2 separate regions of the Homo sapiens genome follow, and region 1 is linked to region 2. The links are contacts of gene promoters, found by promoter capture Hi-C in human tissues and cell types (Jung and others, 2019). All regions are on one chromosome and are shown on one strand. Each heading gives the region's core, a stretch centred on a gene start or on the middle of the fragment in contact. The rest is flanking DNA. Distances are from core to core; before and after follow the strand shown. Region 1 overlaps LINC02283 (long intergenic non-protein coding RNA 2283). Region 2 holds the start of KIT (KIT proto-oncogene, receptor tyrosine kinase).

Region 1 (4,808 bases), core at 603-3,102, 320 kb after region 2:
TTGCTGAGACTTTCCACAGCATTTCGCATTTCTAAAAGTATGTCCAAAGTTTCCTGAATTTATGATTGTTTTTTCTTTAAGCTATCTATTTCCTTGAATATATCTCCCGTCACTTCTTCTATTATTCTTGGATTTCCTTGCATCGTGCTTTGTCTTTCTCCGATCCCTCCCTGATCACCCTAATAACTAACCTCCTGAATTCTTTTTCAGGTAAATCAGAAATTTCTTCTTGGTTTGGATCCATTGCTGGTGAACTAGTGTGATTATTTGGGGGTGTTGTAGAGCCTTGTTTTGTCATATTACCAGGGTTGGTTTTCTGATTCATTCTCATTTGGGTAGGCTCTGTCAGAGGGAAGGTCTAAGGCTGAAGGCTGTTGTTCAGATTCTTTTGTCCCACGGGGTGTTCCTTTGATGTAGTACTCTCCCCTTTTCCTATGGATGTGGCTTCCTGTGAGCCGAACTTCAGTGACTGTTGTCTCTCTTCTGAATCTAGCCACCCAGCGAGTCTACCTGGCTCTAGGCTGGTACCAAGGGTTGTCTGCACAGAATCCAGTGATGTGAACCATCTATGGGTCTCTCAGTCATGGATACCAGCACCTGTTCCAGTGGAGGTGTTGGAGGGTGCAATGAACTCTGAGAGGGTCCTTAGCTTCGGTGGTTTAATGCTCTATTTTTGTGCTGGTTGGCCTCCTGCCAGGAGGTGGTGCTTTCCAGAAAGCATTAACTGCAGTAGTGTGAAGAGGAACCGGCGGTGAGCTGGGCCCTAGATTCCCAAGATTACATGCCCTTTGTCTTCACTACTAGGGTGTATAGGGAAGTACCATCAGGTTGGGGCAGGGCTAGGTGTGTCTGAGCTCAGACTCTCCTTGGGTGGATCTTGTTGCACCTGCTGTCAGGGATGGAGGTGAGATTCTCAGGTCACTGGAGTTGTGTACCTAGGAGGATTATGGCTGCCTCTGCTGAGTCTTGCAGGTTGTCAGGGAAGCAGGGTAAAGCCAGCAGTCACAGGCCTCACCCAGCTCCCATGCAAACTGAACGGCCAGTATTACTTCCACCGTGACCCCCAACCAGTATCCCTGAGTATATTTCCAGGTAGAGGGCGAGAAGGGCTTGAAAACTTGCCTGAGGCTATCTGTCTCCAAGCTGTGGGGGAAAAAAAGGGCTTAAGTTCTTCCCCTGCCTATGAAGTCTGTACTCCAGATTTGCACCCTCCCCCGAGTTCTGGCCAGGAGGCTTCCCGCCCGTTCCAATTGTTACAAAGTTCAGCTAGAGAATTCTTTCTCCCTGTGGAGTTTTACCACCTGCCCCTCTGGCCGCCCTCCCTATGGATCCCCGTGGTGCCAGTCAGGAATTGGCTGCTTGGGGACCCAGCGAGCTCCCAGGGCTTTTCTGCTGCTTCCTCTACCCCTGTATTTTGCTCAGCTGTCTAACTTGACTCAGTTCCAGGTAAAGTCGGAAACTTCTCCCGCAAACAAACTTTCAGCTTCTCCAATGGGGGTGTGCTTTCGGGAGAAGAGGGTCTACCTTTCCCACTTCTGCAGTTGGGGCACTCACAGTATTTGGAGTGTCTCCCCGGTCCTGCAGGAGTAGTCCACCTCTTTCAGAGGGTCTGTGGGTCCTCTCGGGATTGCTGGTTTGTTCTTGCAGTCAATCCGGAGCTAAAATTCACAATGCAAGCCTCCACACGCTGCTCTCTCCAGAGGTGCAATCTAGTCCTGCCTCCCATCCGCCATGATCCTCTAGTTCCAATTTCTATTTAGGTTTATTTTAGAGTCCAGACCTGGTATTCAACATGTAGCCACAGCCCCACAAGGTTACCAAGCACTTGAAATGTGGCCAGTCCAAATTAAGATACGTTATAAATGTAAGATGCACTCCAGATTTCCAAGACTTGATGCCAAAAAGGAATATAAAATATCTCATTAATAATTCATTATGTTATATGATAACGTGATATTTTTGATATGTTGGGTTAAATAACATGTTATTAATTGCATATAATACAAAATTTGTTTCACCTGTTTCTTTTTACTTTTTAAATGTGCCTACTAAAAAAATTTAAATTATATAGGTGCTTTTATTATATTTCTATTGGACTAGTGCTGGTCTAGACTCTTAAGGGAGGACACAGAATTTCCATTAATTATTTGCTACTTTGAGCTAACAAGCCATTCTTTTAGAAATCAACACAATTCAAAGCTCTAGCCTTTCAGATTATAGTCTTGATTTGTTTGATTTGATGCTTCCTTCCATTTACCTGGGGGAAACAAGATTTTTATATTGGTATATACTAAAAGTAGTTTTTGTATTTCATGTGCCCATTCTGATGCTGTTTGATCTCTTGGCACCTCCAATCTATAGTCCTGTGGTCCTCTCCAGACAAGCTGGGTGTTCCCTGTATTGATAATTCAGGAAGAGGTAGGTGGGCAGACAGGAGGCTGAAACTTGGAATATGGGCCTTTTGGGCAGATGAGGAGACTTGGTTATTTCTCACTCCCAAAGATACTCTCCTATCAGAGGCTTAACCATGCCCCTTGCCCATCACCAGGGTCAGAGAAAGAGGCATCTCCTTATGGAGTCACAGCTGAATATGAATAACCTGCGATTCACAGGCCAGCCTTTCTAGTTCTTATTACTCTTTCTGTTTGTATTTTTCATTTTCCCTAAACCTATAATATGGTCCAGTCAAATGCTAGAGCTGTATCTTAGCTCTACTGTGGGGTAGCAAGGGAAGGATAAAGTAGCCAAGCTTGAATAAGAGTATATGCTTTTTCTTTGCACTTTAAAAATATATCTTCAGCATTTCCTTGTTATTATGTTATATGTTTTTTCCAAAGAGTGATTTGTAAAGGCTGCATAACATTCCATTATATAAAAATACCACAGTTTTTTAAATCCCTTACTGGATTTCCTGCCTTCCTTTTTTCTTTTTTATTTTGTAGGTATAACTACAATGGCCATCCTTATCTGGAATTCAACAACCTCGAACTGGGCTCAAGCAATACATTCACTTTAGCCTTCCGAGTAGCTGGGACTATGGACACATGCCACCGCACCAGGCTAATTTTTATTTTTTGTAGAGATGGGGTTTACTACGTTTCCCAGGCTGGTCTCAAACACCTGGCCTCAAGCATTCCCCTCACCTAGGCCTCCCAAAGTGCTGGGATTACATGAATGAGCCACTGCACCTGGCTTCGTGCATGATCTTGATTATATATTTTCCTTGAAGAATTGTGGAATTCTAGGATAAAAAGATTTTTGAGTCTCTTACTACATTTTGGAAAATTGACATTCTGAAATATACCAATTTATTCTGCCACTGATATCCCTATTTTCTTATAATTTTAGGATTTGGAAGAACTGGGCCCATATCAAACCCATATCAGCAAATGGAGGAAGTATATGTGGTCCCTATTAGGCCACTGTTTGCTCAGTTCTTGGTGTACCTGAGAGCCCCCAAAAACAGCTTGTTGACATCTCTTAAATTGAACCTGCATTTTTGGTGCAGTAGGAATTATGTGGGCTGGGGAACCACTGAGAACTGAAGAAGGAATCCTAACACATCCATTTGTGAACTGTGTCACTGTGGGCGCAGTATTGAACCACTTGCACCCTTGATCTTCTCATCTTTCACATGGGGATGGCCCTACCTACCTCACAGGACTATGGTAAGGTTGAGATGAAATCACACATGTAAAGCACCTGGGAGGAAGCTTGTCCTTAACCAGTATTAATATTCCACCCAGAACCCCACCCGAACCCCCTTCTCCATTCCACCAGTTCCTCCGTCTCATCCCTGCCCCCACCTCATAAACGACAGCAGTGGCTTCTCTAACATCTTAGGATTCTGAGTTTGAATAAATTACTAATATTTTTATTTGATTTGATGTTCAAAGTCTCTGACCAAAAGTGAACAATTTAATTATTTTATTTTATTCTATTTTATTTGAGACAATGTCTCCCTCTGTTGCCTGGGCTGAAGCTTAGTGGCGCAATTATGGCTCACTGCAGCCTCGAGCAATCCTCAGGCTCAAGCAATCCTCCCACCTCAACCTCCCAATTAGTGGAGACTACAGGCATGCACCACCATGCTTGGCTAATTTTTTAAAAAAATTTTTAGAGATGGGGTCTCACTATGTTGCATTATGTTGTCTCACTAGGCTGGTTTTGAACTCCTAGACTCTAACGATTCTCCTACCTCAGCCTTCCAAAGTGCAGAAATTATAGACCTGAGCCACCACACTCAGCCTGAAGGTGAACAGTTTACAAGTCAAGGAGAGAAATTGTCCTTTCTGTGATATTGCCAGACTCCCCCTGGCTGAAGATTACTATATCAGCCCTGTGAGTGATAATCAGGCTGTTTGGGCCAACAGCCTCTCAAATGAAACTTCTCTCTGGTTTGAAAAGAGCTTTTTTTGGGAGGAATGCCCACATGAATATATGGTTTTCTGTACTGAACATCTATCAACAACAGTGAAATTAAGTCAAGAAATTTTTAGCTATTTACAAAGTCATAACTGAAATTTGTGTTACCATTCCTTTCTATTTGCGGTCATTTAATGCATGAGTTCGTGATGAAGTTATGACCAAATACGACTTGAATTCATGATTTGTTTGGAGGGGAGGGGGCAGATTTTGCTCAACATTTATTACAGTATTCATTCAGTGAGATTTTATTTAGCACTTGCTGCATGCCAGGTGATGAAACAAGTACTGCAGATTAGGGCCAAATAAGGAAGACATGGTTTTAGATTCAGAAGCTTCCAGTCTAAAGTAAAGACAGACAAGAAACAAAAGACAATAAACAA
Region 2 (5,380 bases), core at 1,046-3,545:
ATTGAAGGGCAGTAAGCATAAGCCACAGCTCCTTGCTTCAGTCAGGGGCAGACCGGTCAGATGCACCCATACTCTATGACTTCCCTGTGAGCAGGAGAGGCAGAGGAATTTCAAAGAGGCAGACAGGGGCCAGGGGAATAGTTAAAAAGAGTGCTGAGTCTACACTCAGAACATTGGAGGAGAATTCTGGACCCAAAGGATCCTTCATGATGCAGATGCCTCCTTGTACTCTGGAGGACACTGCGTTTCCCAGAATTTAAGCAACCTGCCCTAAGCAACCTGGCCAAGGGCACGCAGCCAAGAAATGGCAGAGAAACCGAGAACCCAGGGGACAGAGCAAGGCTTTGTCGTTACACCACACTGCCCCCCCAGGAGACAGACCTTAAAATTCCCTTTGCCAAAAATCTATTGGGGAGAAGAAAACCATTGATTCTTTTAATTTTTTAAAAGGGAGATATTCGATGTGGTCTTTCTAGTCTCCTACTAGGTTCTAGTTCACATAGCTTAACTGATATTAAAAAGGTCAAGGCACAAAAACATAAAGACCAGATGTGTTGTTTTAAGCTAGGTGATCAAATCCTCCAGAGAATCCGAACACTCCCTCGTGACCCCTGCTGACCCCTCCTGCTGCACAGGGGTCCAGATGCAAGGCCTCTCTGCCCCCCACAGGAAAGCCCTCACAATAGTTACAAGTCCAGGACGCTGCAGACTGCGCCTGGAGACTTTATAGAGAAACTGACCGGTAGTCGACAGTCTCAAAACCGTTCATTGCGCCGCTTCCTTTCAAGCGCTTGATTCCAGCTAAGACTCACTTTCTATCCTTACATCATCAGGGTAACCTTAAAGGTTTGTTTTAAAAAATGACCTGGGAGATAGCAGGGCTTCAGGGGTGAGCTGGGCGACCTGCACTCGCCCGCACCAGCGACACCTGGAAAAAAGGGAACGGGAGGCAGGAATCTGACCAAGGGGCTCCAGCAACCTGCAAATCCTTCACCTAAGACCCAGTTCCCGCGCGGATATACCTGGATTTCTGTTATAGCTTTAAGAACTGAGTAGGATTTGCAGAAAGTTCCACGCCATCTCCCACCCCACCCCCAGGCAGCCCTGAAGTATAGAAGTCCCGGGGGCGGGGAGGCGGGCGGTCACGAATCTCAAAAATTTCCGAAGAAAACAGGACCTGCGAATACAGGTCGCAGACACCGGGAACTAGGGGCTTTCAGAACCCGCCAGGCAGGCCGGGCACTCTGGCCGGCGTGCTAGGCGGTTGGAGTCAGGGAACGCAGAGTCCCAGCACGCTGTCCCTTGCCTTCCCGGAGCAGGCGGCAAACACAGCCTCCAGCCGCCCCGGGGCGCGCGGCAGGAATGAAACGGCGCCGCGGCAGAAAGGGGCGAGCACGGGATGTACGAAAGCAAAAAGTCTGCAACCTAGCGGCTGCTTTCCACACGCCCTGCCCAAGTTGTCCCTGTCGCCACCACCTCCAGGCTCGCGGGAGTCCGGCCCCACAACAGCCCCACGCCGCGCACTCCCAGCGCAAAAGCCTAACCCGGAGGCGGGGAAACGCCGCAGCCTTCGATTGGTCTCCACGGGTGGCGCCGCGAGCAGAGGCGGCAGCGGGTCGGTCCCCAGCTCTGGGCACAAAGAGCGCCTGCGGTTGGAAGGCAGTAGCCGCAGAGCAGAGAAAGGGCTCTCTAACTTTGCCCTCAGCGCGGCGGAGAACCTGCAGGCAGGTCCTCCCGGGCGCCGGTCACACACACGCAACTTTTAACAAAAGGAAGCTGCGGCCGCGCCTCGCACGGCAAGAGAAGGCGCTCGGTGCAAACCCCTGAGCCCCCCGCCTCCGCCCCCCGCGCAACGTCGGCACAAAAGCCACCCCAAACTCGCACGGAGCCTGCAGCCTCGCTCACGCCTAACCCCCTCTTGCTGTCCCCATTCCCGAAGAACCCCGGATTCGCGTCCCCCACCACCAGCAGCTGGGGTCTCCTCGCGCAGGTGAGCGAGGCAGGGCGCCGGAGAGTCCGAGGGCCACCTGGAGTCTCCCCGGAGGCTGGAACGCACGGGCACTGAGGGCCCGCAGTCCTCTCTCCGGATGCACCCTGGCGGGTACCACCCTCCCAGGCACAGGCTTCGCCGAGTAGTCGCACGGTCGGGGTGCCAGCCGCGGTGTCCCACCTGTCTGGACGCGAAGCAGTAGGAGCAGAACGCAGAGAAAATCCCAGGCGCCGCGAGCGCCTCTCATCGCGGTAGCTGCGATGGGATCCGAGCTCTGGTCCACGTTCCAGCTCTCGCCCAAGTGCAGCGAGCGCGGCAAAGCCGAGCCCCCAGAGCCGCGAGCGGCGAGCAGCAGCCCCTCCTCCCAGCGCCCTCCCTCTGCGCGCCGGCCACGCCCCTCCTCGCCTCCCCTCCCTCGCGCCCGCCCGGGTCTCGCTTCTTCCCGGCGGCGTCTGGCCCCTGCTCTTTCGACGTGTTAATGCCGGGGGGCCGTGCCCGCCGGGAGGAGGAGGGCGCGCGCGCCCTCTCTCCCCGCTCTTGACTCCGGAGCCCCTTTCTCTCTCCACCTTTCCACCCCTGGGATGTGGACGGCCAGGCTGAGGCCGTTCCCGGACCAAGGAGGTGCTGCCCGCTCGCTTTGTGAAGCTGGGCACCACGCACACGTTAGGGCACGGGCCCGCCACCTGCCAGGTGCTCCCCAGACAATAAAGGTCGACTGCCCGCCCCTCGAGCACGTTCGGGCGGGAGGAGGCTGGACGCCGCTGCTCGTGGAGGTGGCATGGGGATGGGGAGGGGAGCGTTAGGAAATTGAGCCCCGACATTCCCCTCCAGGCCTGTTAGGAGCTCCTGGCACCGCGGTAAAGGCTGAGCCCGGTTTCGCTAATTGTTTCTGCTCAATTTCTCCACCTGCTTCGTAACCTGTAGGAACACAGTGGGTTCCTATTGGTCGGCGTGGCCTCCGCCCAAGAAGCCCCTGCCGGGACTTGTGTGGAGACAGGGGCGATGGAGGGCGCGTGGCGAAGTTTGCTCTGGGAGCCCAGGTTTTCATACACGTTTTCCCCCCTCCCCCCAACGCTGCCAACCCCAGTAATGATTTCTCTGCCTCTGTAACAGACGACAGTTTTAGGGCTAGGGCTCTTAACTGCCCTTGCCGGTCCCAGGAGCAAAATAAAAGTACAATGATTCTCTTAAGCCCGATTTCACTGCCCAGAAAGTGCCTTACCCACAGTCTCATGGTGGATCCTTGAACGGAAAGCAACAACAGTATCTGTATAGGGGTTAATAGTTCTTCCCCACAGCGACTCGTCTTTTCATGCTCACGATAACAGCTTTGTGAGGAGGGTAGAGCAGGTATGTTTATTATTGTAGTGAGGGAAGACCCAGGGCTTGAACACTTATTGGAAGACCTACTCCAAGAAAGATGAGCTTTCCCTATGCATTCTGATAAACTAATAAGACATCCCTCCTGAGAGCTTAAGAATGGAAAAATAAATGGCAGATGCCCATCAGAAAAAGGGATAGAACAGATACACCTAGACTCTTCTCTGAAGTATCATCCAAAATTTACAGTTGCCCAGCTGCCCCACTTCATTTAATATTGAAAGCTCTCCTGTTGTTTAATAGTGTGAGGACCCAGGTTGATGTAAGAAAAATGATTTTTAAAGCTAATCACTTAAAAATTATCAGTGCTAGAGGGTGATCAAATGATCAATGTGTATAATTGCCTCTCTTTAAATGTAAGTATTTACTCACTCAGCAAGCATTTGTTTAGTGTCTGCTGTGAAGCAAGGAGGAGCTAGGTACCAGGAGTACTATTATTAATAGACAGATATGCAGATGTGGCCCCTGCCCTCACAGTCCTTATAATCAAGTATGGGGACCTACATCCCAATCTCCCAGCAAAAGGTTCGAGTCATGCGGCTGTAGGAGAACTGAAATACCAAAGGTCTCTGTGCTCTGGGCCATCAGATCTCATGTTTTTCTTAGGATGACAGATAAAAGATACCACTCAAAGCAATCATAAGTTTCTGGGATCTTGATTTATTTCTAAAATTCATTTTGTATTGAGAAAAAATCACTATGAGTTAAAATATCAACATTATGCCTGAGAGAGAAAATTTACAATTTTCTTCTTCAATCAGCTGATATTGGAGAGGATAACATCTTCAAAAGAGTGGGTGAAAAGAGACCATATTGCAATTTAATTCTAGGCACGGAACTTCTATCAGGAAAAAAAAAAACTGAATAGGGAGTTATACCATGTTGGACCGTCATTCCTGTTTTTCATTCAGCAAATATCTTTTGAGCACCTAGGTAGGCATAAGACCCACATAAATGAGTAAGACAAAGTCTCTGTCTAGGGGAATTCACAGTCCAGCAGGGAAAATAGGTACTCAAGTAAGAAACTATAATATCTGCTAACAGAGCTTATGTTCAGCCAGTACACACCAATTTGGCCTTATTGGTTGACACAATATTGAAATCCTTCTGTACTGATTACAAAAAAAACCATACCCTAAAATATCTCCCAGCCCAACCTTGAGACACGCTAAATCTCCTTAGATCCAGGAATTAAAATTTTAATGCTGGCCACAACAGAGAGCCTCCAGTACTTGTACCTTTAGGGTTGTTAGCTGTTTTTAATAATACCCACTGCCTGTTACATAAAGAAAGGAAGCATATATATAAGGCACTATGAGTGGACATATATGCTGTAATATATAAGGAACTATATTATAGATCAGCAGTGTCCAATGGAACATTGGCAATGATGGAAATGTTTTATATCTCAGGTAGGATGTATGGATTAATTCTATACTGTATTTTGTGATAGTCCTGGGCATGTTCAGGGATTGTGCTTTATGTATTTCATTGTTTTCATAATTCTTTTAGCAAGGACTCTCGATTGCAACTTATAGAAGCAGCTTAAATTAAGCAAGCAAACAAAGAAGCCTAAATGTATTGGCTCTTATAACCAGAAAGTCCAGGGACAATAGTGTTTCAGACTTTCCTAGATCCAAGGACTCAAAGTTATCAGGACTTGAAGGGCGAGTGTGTGTGGATGCATGTGTGCACAAGTGCACGTACACTTTCCTCCACCTTTATCCTCAATACTTTCCTGTGTTGTTTTGCCAACCTTGTATACACTCAGGGCAGCTCTAGGCTTACAGCTCACTAGTACCAACGGAAGTAGAGTTTTCCTGCCCCCATAAACATCTCCTGTAAAAGTTTATGGGAGAAACCGAGTCTCACTGACCTGGCTTAAGTCATGTGCCCATTGGGAAGGAGCCAGAGGGATGGAGTATGCTGATTGGCCATGTCTGAGTCATGTGCCCACCCCTGAAGCCGGGGTCAGGGATCCACTTCACACCAGAGGCCTGAGATGGGGAA

What was found. The method cuts DNA at HindIII sites, captures the fragments that hold promoters and counts their contacts. A contact is called where the count stands out against the background at its distance.
Region 1: a contact is called between a fragment that was not itself captured here and the fragment with the promoter of KIT in region 2, in 1 of the 25 tissues and cell types used here (H1 embryonic stem cells).

What each region holds. Positions count from the first base shown.
Region 1 is chr4:54,338,267-54,343,074 of GRCh38, reverse strand. The region is part of intron 1 of LINC02283 (long intergenic non-protein coding RNA 2283); the gene reads right to left. Among named protein-coding and RNA genes, the nearest start is that of LINC02283, 7.8 kb to the right of the region's middle. The HindIII fragment of the contact is 8,366 bases long and covers 1-4,808 here.
Region 2 is chr4:54,654,872-54,660,251 of GRCh38, reverse strand. It overlaps KIT (KIT proto-oncogene, receptor tyrosine kinase), which reads right to left and starts at 2,295. Exons shown (of 21, transcript NM_000222.3): 1 at 2,171-2,295. The coding sequence starts at 2,237. RefSeq lists a silencer at 2,716-3,010. The HindIII fragment of the contact is 17,872 bases long and covers 1-5,380 here.